Regions from separate parts of the Homo sapiens genome. Here region 1 is linked to region 2. Evidence: promoter capture Hi-C in human tissues and cell types (Jung and others, 2019). All regions are on one chromosome and are shown on one strand. The core of a region is centred on a gene start or on the middle of the fragment in contact, and the rest is flanking DNA. Distances in the headings are between cores, read along the strand shown.

Region 1 (5,402 bases), core at 307-2,806, 260 kb before region 2:
GCACTTTGGGATGCCAAGGTGAGAGGATCGCTTGAGCACAGGACTTTTTAAAAAAGAGACCCAACAGCATGCTGTTACCAGAAAAGCGCTTTAAATATAAAGACACTGATTAAAAGTAACACCATAGAGCAGTGTAAACCATGCTAACACTAATCCAAAGAAAGCTGCAGTCACTGCATTAACACCAGACAGGGCACCCTTCAGACAAGAAATCTCCTCCAGGACACAGAAGGACATGACATAATGATAAAGAGGCCAGTTCTCCACAAAGGCATGACAATGCTCAATGTGCCTGTGCCTAAAAACAGTGTCAAGTGACACGAAAACCAGCAGAACTACAAAGAAAGAGAAATCCACTGTGGCGGTTAGAGAGCTCAGCACCTGTCTACCAGTAACTGACAGATCCAGCCAGCAGAAAATCAGCAAGGACATAGCTGACCTCAACAGCACCACTGGTTACCTAGCTATAATGCACACCTAACACCCTACTTCGTCCAACTGCAGCAGAACACACAGGCTTCCCAAGCTACACTCTGGGCTATGAAACACACCTTAACAGATGTAAAAGAAGCACCACTGGTTACCTAGCTATAATGCACACCTAACACCCTACTTCGTCCAACTGCAGCAGAACACACATGCTTCCCAAGCTACACTCTGGGCTATGAAACACACTTTAAAAATGTAAAAGAAGCACCACTGGTTACCTAGCTATAATGAACACCTAACACCCTACTTCATCCAACTACAGCAGAACACACATGCTTCCCAAGCTACACTCTGGGCTATGAAACACACTTTAAAAATGTAAAAGAAGCACCACTGGTTACCTAGCTATAATGCACACCTAACACCCTACTTCGTCCAACTGCAGCAGAACACACAGGCTTCCCAAGCTACACTCTGGGCTATGAAACACACCTTAACAGATGTAAAAGAAGCACCACTGGTTACCTAGCTATAATGCACACCTAACACCCTACTTCGTCCAACTGCAGCAGAACACACATGCTTCCCAAGCTACACTCTGGGCTATGAAACACACTTTAAAAATGTAAAAGAAGCACCACTGGTTACCTAGCTATAATGAACACCTAACACCCTACTTCATCCAACTACAGCAGAACACACATGCTTCCCAAGCTACACTCTGGGCTATGAAACACACGCTAACAGATGTAAAAGAAGCACCACTGGTTACCTAGCTGTAATGAACACCTAACACCCTACTTCATCCAACTACAGCAGAACACACATGCTTCCCAAGCTACACTCTGGGCTATGAAACACACGCTAACAGATGTAAAAGAATAGAGTCATACAATGTATGAACTCTCAATTCCACAACGGAGTTAAACTAGAAATCAGTAACAGAAAGATAGCTGGAAAATCCCCAAACACATGGAGATTAAGCAATGCACTTCTAATACCACATGGATCTACAAAGAAGTCTCAAAAGAAATTTAAAAATATTTAAACTAAATGAAAATAACAACACAATATATGTAAATTTGTGAGATGCAGCAAAAGCAGTGCCTGGAAGAAATGCATAGCATTCAATGCCTGTATTAGAAAAGAATGATCCAAAAGCAATCATTTAGATATCCATCTTAGGAGGCAGTCAAATCCAAAGTAAGCACAGGAAATGAAATAATAAAAATTAGAGCAGAAATCAATACAATTGAAAATAGGAAACAGAGAAAAATAATGTAATCAAAAGCCAGCGCTTTGAAAAGATCAATAAAATTGATAAGCCGCTAACCGTTCACTCTCCTGGAAAAGGGGCTGCAGCCAGGGAGCCAAGTGGTCTGGCTCGGTGGGTCCCACCCCCAAGGAGCCCAGCAAGCTAAGATCCACTGGCTTGAAATTCTTGCTGCCAGCACAGAAATCAACCTGAAATCAACCTGAAATGCTCAAGCTTGGTGCGGGCAGGGGTGCCCACCACTGCGAGGCTTGAGTAGGCAGTTTTACCCTCACCGTGTAAACAAAGCCTCTGGGAAGTTCGAACTGGGCAATCCCACCGCAGCTCAGCAAGGCCACTGTGGCCAGACTGCCTCTCTAGACTCCGCCTCTCTGGGCAGGGCATCTCTGAAAAACAGGCAGCAGCCCCAGTCAGGGGCTTGTAGATAAAACCCCCATCTAACTGGGACAGAGCACCCAGGGAAAGGGGCGGCTGTGGGTGCAGCTTCAGCAGAATTAAACGCTCATGCCTGACGGCTGTGAAGACAACAGCAGATCTCCCAGCACAGCACTCAAGTCTCTGCTAAGGGTCAGACTGCCTCCTCAACTGGGTCCCTGACCCTGGTGTATCCTGACTGGGAGAAACCTCCCAGTAGGGGACAACAGACACCTCATACAGGAGAGCTCTGGCTGGCATCTGGTGGGTGCTCCTCTGGGATGAAGATTCCAAAGGAAGGAACAGGCAGCAATCTTTGCTGTTCTGCAGCCTCCGCTGGCGATACTCAGGCAAACAGGGTCTGGAGTGGACCTCCAGCAAACTCCAGCAGACCTGCAGCAGAGGGGCCTGATGGTTAGAAGGAAAACTAACAAACAGAAAGCAATAGCATCAACATCAACAAAAAGGACATCCACACCAGAACCCCATCTGAAGGTCAACAGCATCAAAGACCAAAGGTAGAGAAATCCATGAAGATGGAAGGAACTGGCGCAAAAAGGCTGAAAATTCCAAAAGCCATAACGCCTCTTCTTCTCCAAAGGATCACAACTCCTCGCCAGCAAGGGAACAAAACTGGACAGAGAATAAGTTTGATGAATTGACAGAAGTAGGCTTCAGAAGGTGGGTAACAAACTCCTCTGAGCTAAAGGAGCATGTTCTAACCCAAAGCAAGGAAGCTATGAACCTGGAAAAAAGGTTAGAGGAATTGCTAACTAGAATAACCAGTGTGGAGAAGAACATAAATGACCTGATGAAGCTGAAGACCACAGCATGAGAACTTCGTGAAGCATATACAAGTATCAATAGCCGAATCGATCAAATGGAAGAGAGGATATCAGAGATTAAAGATCAACGAAATGAAATAAAGTGAGAAGACAAGATCACAGAAAAAAGAATGAAAAGGAACAAACAAAGCCTCCAGGAAATATGGGACTACGTGAAAAGACCAAATCTAAGTTCGATTAGTGTACCTGAAAGTGACGGGGAGAATGGAACCAAGTTGGGAAATACTCTTCAGGATATTATCCAGGAGAACTTCCCCAAACTAGCAAGACAGGCCAACATTCAAATTCAGGAAATACAGAGAACACGACAAAGATACTCCTGGAGAAGAGCAACCCCAAGACACATTAACATCAGATTCACCAAGGTTGAAATGAAGGAAAAAAATCTTAAGGGCAGCCAGAGAGAAAGGTCAGACTACCCACAAAGGGAAGCCCATCAGATTAACAGTGGATCTCTCTGCAGAAACCCTACAAGCCAGAAGAGAGTGGGGCCAATGTTCAACATTCTTAAAGAAAAGAATTTTCAACCAGAATTTCATATCCAGCCAAACTAAGTTTCATAAGCAAAGGATGAATAAAATCCTTTACAGACAAGCAAATGCTGAGAGATATTGTCATCACCAGGCCTGCCTTACAAGAGCTCCTGAAGGAAGCACTAAACATGGAAAGGAACCACCAGTACCAGCCATTGCAGAAACATACCAAATTGTGGCCAGGTGCAGTGGCTGACACCTGTAATGCCAGCACTTTGGAAGGCTGAGACAGGCAGAACACGAGGTCAGGAGATCGAGACCAACCTGGCTAACACAGTGAAACCCCATCTCTACTAAAAATACAAAAAAATTAACCGGGCATGGTGGCAGGCGTCTGTAGTCCCAGCTTCTTGGTAGGGTCAGGCAGGACAATGGCGTGAACCCAGGAGGTGGAGCTTTCAGTGAGCCGAGACTGCAGCACTGCACTCCAGCCTGGGCAACAGAGCAAGACTCCATCTCAAAAAAAAAAAAAAAATTGTAAAGACCATCAACACTACAAAGAAACTGCATAAACTAATGAGCAAAATAACCAGCTAGCATCATAATGACAGGATCAAATTCACACATAACAATATTAACCTTAAACGTAAATGGACTGAATGCCCCAATTAAAAGACACAGACTGGCAAATTGGATAAAGAGTCAAGACCCATCAGTGTGCTGTATTCAGGAGACCCATCTCATGTGCAAAGACACACATAGGCTCAAAATAAACAGATGGAGGAATATTAACGAAGAAAATGGAAAGCAAAAAAAGGCAGGGGTTGCAATCCTAGTCTCTGATAAAACAGACTTTAAACCAACAGAGATGAAAAGAGACAAAGAAAGGTATTACATAATGGTAAAGGGATCAATTCACCAAGAGCTAACTATCCTAAATATATAAGCACCCAATACAGGAGCACGCAGATTCATAAAGCAAGTTCTTAGAGACCTACAAAGAGACTTAAAATCTCCCATATTATTGTGTGGGAGTCTAACACTCCACTGTCAATATCAGACAGATCAATGAGACGGAAAATTAACTAGGATATTCAGGACCTGAACTCAGATCTGGACCAAGCAGACCTAATAGACATCTACAGAACTCTCCACCCCAAATCAATAGAATACACATTCTTGTCAGCATCTCATTATGCTTATTCTAAAATTAACCACATAATTGGAAGTAAAACACTCCTCAGCAAATGCAAAAGGATGGAAGTCATAACAAACGGCCTCTCTGACCACAATGCAATCAAATTAGAACTCAGGATTAAGAAACTCACTCAATGGCCAAGCGCAGTGGCTCACGCCTGTCATCCCAGCACTTTGGGAGGTCCGGGGCAGGCAGATCACCTGAGGTCGGGAGTTCGAGACAAGCCTGACCAATGTGGAGAAACCCCATCTCTAATAATAATAATAAAAAAAAAAAAAAAAAAAAACTTAGCTGGACATGGTGGCACATGCCTGTAATCCCAGCTACTCGGGAGGCCAAGGTGGGAGAATCACTGGAACCCAGGAGGCAGAAGTTGCAGTGAGCTGAGATCACGCCATTGCACTCCAGCCTGGGCAACAAGAGGGAAACTCCATCTCAAAAAAAAAAAAAAAAAAAAAAGGACTCACTCAAAACTGCACCACACAACTACATGGAAACTGGACAACCTGCTCCTGAAAGACTACTTGGTAAATAACAAAATTAAGGCAGAAATAAAGATGTTCCTTGAAACCAATGAGAACAAAGACAACGTACCAGAATCTATGGGACATATTTCAGGCAGTGTTTAGAGGTACTTTTTTTTTTTTTTTTTTTTGAGGCAGAGTCTTGCTCTGTCGCCTCCATGCAGGAGTTCAGCAGTACGATCCCAGCTCACACTGCAAGTTCTGCCTCCCAAGTTCACGCCATTTTCCTGCCTCAGCTTCCCGAGT
Region 2 (5,809 bases), core at 1,036-3,535:
AGAAGTGTTTGCTAAGTCACCGCGCAGGAGGAGACAGAATCAGAGGTGACGAATGTAAGTCCACCCATTGGCTTAAGATCCAGTATCCTGAGTGAGTTGCACAGATCCTCTCCTTCAGTCCTCTCAGGTAGGTGCAGTGGTGTCTCCCTGGAGCACAGAGAGGCCAAGTATCTGGCTCCAAATCACAAGACTTGCAGAGGGTAAGGCTGGTGTCTAAGGTCCCATCAGTTGAACTCCAAAGCAGGCTGTCTAGAAATTGGGTTCAGAGACCTCCCAGCCTGGAACCCAGTTTGATGGAGTCCCGCATTCAGGGGCCAGTAAACCACTGTACCCTGGACAACTCCATAAGCTTCGGTTATATTTTTAGGGCGGTTTTGCATGTTGAAATATTTGCATGCTTCGAGTCTACCATGCATGATCAGGCTGTCCCTGACCAGGGGAAAATTTACATAGTAAAATAGTATTACCCTTGAAATAGATTTAAGATAGGTCCTCCTTTTTCTTGACAGTATTACAACCCAGTTCAATTTCAGGAACTCTAGAGGTCCCTGCAGTTATGAAGAACTAATTAAAGGCATGAAATGTTCCTCTGCAAGTTTCATTGACCATATTGGGCCTACAGTCCATTTCCAAATAAATATCTAAGGTAAGAAAAATATGGGACTCCCCACAGACTACTTATCTACCAGATGGTGTGGGGTTTGGATGGATGTTTTCAGTTACTTCAGCAATTTTTTCATTAATTCAGTATTTATTGAGAACCTAATGTATGCCAAGCTTGTAAAATGCAGTGGGGGGTATGACCTATTCCCAGGTCTCTGGACTCTGGCAGAATGGTAGAGAAGATGCTGTCGGGCTTGCATGTTCAGAACACCGTGTCTTAGGTGACCTCCCGGGCCTTTGGAGGCCCAACCCCAGGGTGGCGGGATAGCCAGGTGAGGCTTTGTTTGGCCTGTTCACGTTTCTCTGGAAAAGAATGGGGGTAGTTAGGCCAGGCGCGGTGGCTCATGCCTGTAATCCCAGCACTTTGGGAGGCCAAGACAGGTGGATCACTTGAGGTCAGGAGATCGAGACCAGCCTGGCCAATGTACAGTGAAACCCTGTCTCTACTAAAAATACAAAATTTAGCTGGGTGTGGTGGTGCATGCCTGTAGTCACAGCTACTTGGGAGGCTGAGGCAGGAGAATTGCTTGAACCCAGGACGCAGAGATCGCAGTGAGCCGAGATTGCACCACTGCATTCCAGCCTGGGCGACAGAGTGAGACTCCATCTCTAAAAAAAAACAAAAGAGAAAAAGAAGTATTATTCTGCAGCCGAAAGGAAGTAGAGATGCACTAAGAAGATCACAGTAGAGTTTGGAACATTTTTGGAGTAAACTGAACAAAATAAAAACGGAGCAGCATGGGAATTATTTTAGCTTCCACCAAAAGGGTCTGTTTCTGCTATAGTTAACGGAAGTTTTCAATTTTCAAAAAATCCCAGTAGCTCGCTGAGTTTCAGCCTCCTGTAATTCAAGTACTGACAGCAGGTACTACTCTTCTTGGCAACAGAGTGAAAAAGGTTTTAAAGATGTTCCCGGGGCGTTAGCTTTGGTGCTGGAGTTGTAACGGCTCATTATGTGTATACAGCATGGAACTGGCAAAGACTGTCACAAGCAAAAAGAACACAAAAAGAGAAAGTAAAGGCTCTGGCTCTCGGTACTTATGGAAATCTCATCGTCATTAATTTGCACAAAGCCATTAAAAATAGCATTTACCAGCAGGGGTCCAGCGTTAATTAGAACCCAGCCTGGGAGCAGCTGGAACTCTCGGCGCTCCTGGCTCAGTCCTCGCCGCCCTGAACCCGTCTGCACCGCAGGGCCCGAGTGGGAGGCAGAGGCCACATTTCTGGATATGAGCAAAAGCTCCGACATTTCGTCCACTCTCGTGTTGTGAACTTTAAAAAATTCTGGAATCTGTTGAGAATTTGGCAATAAGTTTTTAACCACTAAATATGTCAACAACGCATCGCCTCTACTTTTACCAAAAAATAGGCGCACGAAACTCCGCTGTTTGCGCCCGCGGACACCTGTCCCCGCCTCCTCGCAGGAAGCGGCCCCCGCGCGTGGGCGCGGGCTCGGGCTCGGGCTCGAGTGGCGACGTGGGCCGCGGTCCTGGAGGGGGAGAAGCGCCCGGCGGGCAGGCGCGGGGCAGGGAAGCCCCGGGGAACCCACAGCCCCTCCGCAGACCCAGCCAGGGGGCGCGCGCCCGAAAACGCCCCGTGTGCACGCGCCCGCCCCCCTCCCCGCGCCCCGCGCGCGCCCCTCGCAGCCTGGAGCCGGAGCGCTGGCTCCGCGCGGCCTGGAGAGGCGGAGAGGCCTGTCCACCGCCCCCTCTGCCGCCCACGCCCCGCTGCGGGTCGGAGGAGCAGCTCCCGCTCGCAGGTGCTCGGAGAGGCCGGGCCGCGGCTCCCACAGGTGCCGGGAAGCGGCCGCGCGCATGCGCCGGAGCCCACCCGCCTGGCTGCGCGTCCCGGGCCCGGCGGCTGAAGAGGAGCCGCGGCGAGGTAGGGCGGACCCCGGGGAGGCAGCGGCGGGGCCTGGCGGGCGGAGCGGGAAGCAGCCCGAGGCGCGGGTCGGAGGGGGCGGCGGGTGGGAGGTGGTCGGCGAGAGCGGCAGTAGGCGGGAGGGGAGAAAAGGGGAGGCCGGCAGGGGAGAGGCGGGGAGGGGAGGCCGGCAGGGGAGGGAGGGGAGCGGAGCGGAGGGGAGGGGAGGGGGGACCGGGAGAGGAGGGGGCAGCGCTGCCCGCGGCGGGGTGGGCGGCGGTGGGTGGTCTCCGCTCCGCCTCCGGGAGGCCGCGTGGGGGGCGTGGGGGCCTCCTCGCGGGGTCTCCACAGGCCCTCCCCCGGGACGCGGCAACCCCGGCCGGAAGACAATGAGCCGCCCGCGCCGCGCCCGCAGTCACCGCCCCCGCCGAGGGTCCCGCCGCCCCAGCCGGCACGGAAGCAGGAGCAGAAGCCGAAGCCAAGCGCGCGGGGCCAGGGCGGGGGCTCCTCCCGGGGTTGCTCCGCTTGGCTCTCGGCGGTCGCGGGGATCGGCTGTCCGGAGCGAACGGGGGTCTCTCCTGGACTCGGGGCCCTGGGGAGGGGAGCGCGGCCCTTGGTCCTCCGCCGCTGCGCCCGGGGTGCGGGGGTGTCCTGGCTGCTGACCCCCGCGAGCCCCGAGCACCGCGACCCACCCGCCCCACCGCGCCGCGGCTCCCGAGTCCTGCCGGGCGCCCCTTGCAGCCCCCGCCCCATGTGCTGGGGAGACCCCCGGGCGGTCTGGGCGGGATTCCGCAGGGGTCCCTCCTCTCAGGCGGGGCTCATTCTGGAGCATGAAAAGAGGGTGAACCAAAGTCCCTCCACCTCTTTAGAGTCCTACAAAACCACGTTTCCCCCTCCACCCACTCCAGTGTCTATTCTAAGGAAAAGAAAAGGAACAAATCAGTGCAGCGAGCTTTATTCTACTCAGCCCACGAAAGGCGCCGCCGTCAGATTTTAAAGTTCCAGCCATCCCCTCAGGCCCTGAGTGAGAAGTTCGCCCGATTCCCCGCGGTTCCCGCCTCCATTTCCCACTAAGGAGCAGTTACTCAGGCTCCAATTAGGACCCCTTAATGGATGTCAATGGAACCCTTCAGCCTTTTATCCTGAGCTAATAGTGTGCTATTATTAGAATAATCCTCCCCATTCCTGACATCACGGAAGGGAGCGTTCCATTGCCTTCAGATTTGCTCCAGCAACAACCTCGTGTGTGCAGATTTATGGTAACTGGCATTGCAATGCTCCCATCAGGGCATAACTAAGTAAAAATTGTAATGAGGTAAAGCCTTTGAACTTTCCATGTCAGTTGCACAGGCATTGCTGGCCATAGCATTGGACAGCACATAATAAAATCAGTTAAAAGATGTTGCTTACATTATAGTGATGTGTAGCACAGCCACGTTCGGATCAATTACAGACCGCCAAGTTGACGGTGGTCCTGTAAGATTATAAAACTGTTTTCCCTGTGTCTTTTTCATGCTTAGAAATGTGTAGATACACAAACACCATTGTGTTACAATTGCCTGCGGTATTGTGCACGCTGCACAGGTGTGCAGTCTGGAGCAGGAGTCTGTGCAGTGGAGCACAGGTGTGTAGCAGGCTGCACCGCCTAGGTGTGTAGGTGCCCTGTGTGATGTTTGCACAGTGATGAAGTTATCTAACTATCATTTCTCAGAACCTGTCTGCATCTGAACCATTCGTGACTGTATTTAAGCCAGCATTGGGCTTGGGAGGAGGGGAGAAAGCTTAAATGTTGTGGCTCTGAGACTAAAGAAATTCCCAGGGAGCAGGACTCTGTGTTGACTGATGTCTGGGCCTAACTTGAACCTCAGAGCACCTTGCTCTGGGTGGATGGAAGAATCCGGAAAGGTGGTTTGGAGCTTATCGCATCATTTGTAAACTCCAATACAAACCCGCTTCAATGGGGTTTCCATATGTTCCGGTACAGGTAGCAACCTTGGCAGTGGGAGCCCAGCAGGTCCCGTCTTTGTCCCTGTGCTGATACAGAGAGACTCTCCGTGCTGTGGACGCCTCCATCTGGGCACATGTTTCAGTTGTTTTCTAAATACCAAGAGCACAGATTGCTCAGTAATAATAGCTCTCCTGCAAATCTGGAATCACTTAGGCAGCTGCAGTGCCTCTAAGCCTCCTTGCATCCAAGGCTGTGATCAAGGAGGACTGGTGTCTGAGTGGGCTTGAGAAGGGCCCGGAGAACAGCGGGTTTCCTGATCACAAATCAGCCTGTCATTCAGCATGTGTTCCCTTGGTGACTCAGGGCGATATCTGCCCTTCTCCGGAGGTCAAGGGCTCATCGTGTCAATTGTGGTCTTGAGTTTGTTTTTTTTTTCCTCTTGAAATCATTGTAATTAAGCTAAAAGTATAGTGTTGGTATCCAGCACATGTTTGCAAAGTATTTAACAATGAGCAAAAACTTTAAGAATAAATTAAAGCATCTAGTTTACTTTTTGCCAACAGCCAGGTTCCTGCTAGAAATGATTTTGAAATAAATGTTGTCTTGGAAATAGAAACCGTTGCATGTCTTATGTGCATTTTGTTTGAAGGATTAGCATGAATTTCCTTCTCTTCTGAATATTTGTGGAGTTCCCCTGCTCCCCCACCCCCCACCCTGCTGTGGGTCAGGCTCAGTCCTAGGTGCTGGGAATACAGTTGTAAGTAAAGTCAGCCTAGTTCTCTGCTATCTGCAGCTGAGACGTTAATACAGTGAAAGGCATTCAGCATATAATTACGTTAATTCTTAGGTAATAACACACGGAGATGAGTGCGTTGAAGGAGAGGAATACATTCCCTTGAATGCACGTAACAGAGGAATGTTAGGCCGAGAACTAAGGGATGAGAGGGGTGGCTCAGGAGCCCAGGAGGGGACAGTTTGCGGGAACATTGTGTGCAAAGGCCCTGTGGTGAGGACTAGAGCACGGAGAGGTCAGTGAGGGGCGCTGGAGCAGGGTGTAGTAAAAGTGTAATGTCAGCCGATTTTATGGCTGAGTTAAATTGATGGAGCTTCACACTTTAGAGCAAGGTCCTCCAACCCATGGGCCACGAGCCACATGTGGCCCAGGACAGCTTTGAATGAGGCCCAACACAGATTTGTAAACTTTCTTAAAACATTATGAGTTTTTTTTTTTTTTAAGCTCATCATCTATCATTAGTGTTAGTCTATTTTATGTGTGACCCAAGACAATTCTTCCAGTGTGGCCCACGGAAGCCAAAAGATTGGAGACCCCTGCTTTAG

Evidence for each region. The method cuts DNA at HindIII sites, captures the fragments that hold promoters and counts their contacts. A contact is called where the count stands out against the background at its distance.
Region 1: a contact is called between a fragment that was not itself captured here and the fragment with the promoter of KBTBD11 in region 2, in 1 of the 25 tissues and cell types used here (heart left ventricle).

What each region holds. Positions count from the first base shown.
Region 1 is chr8:1,710,267-1,715,668 of GRCh38, forward strand. No RefSeq gene overlaps it. Among named protein-coding and RNA genes, the nearest start is that of CLN8, 51 kb to the right of the region's middle. The HindIII fragment of the contact is 7,164 bases long and covers 1-5,138 here.
Region 2 is chr8:1,971,392-1,977,200 of GRCh38, forward strand. It overlaps KBTBD11 (kelch repeat and BTB domain containing 11), which reads left to right and starts at 2,286. Exons shown (of 2, transcript NM_014867.3): 1 at 2,286-2,544. KBTBD11-AS1 (KBTBD11 antisense RNA 1) reads right to left here and starts at 1,954. Exons shown (of 3, transcript NR_136275.1): 1 at 1,757-1,954; 2 at 1,149-1,272; 3 at 1-966. It overlaps KBTBD11-OT1 (KBTBD11 overlapping transcript 1), which reads left to right and starts at 6. Exons shown (of 3, transcript NR_126346.1): 1 at 6-127; 2 at 534-646; 3 at 4,508-5,053. The HindIII fragment of the contact is 1,977 bases long and covers 564-2,540 here.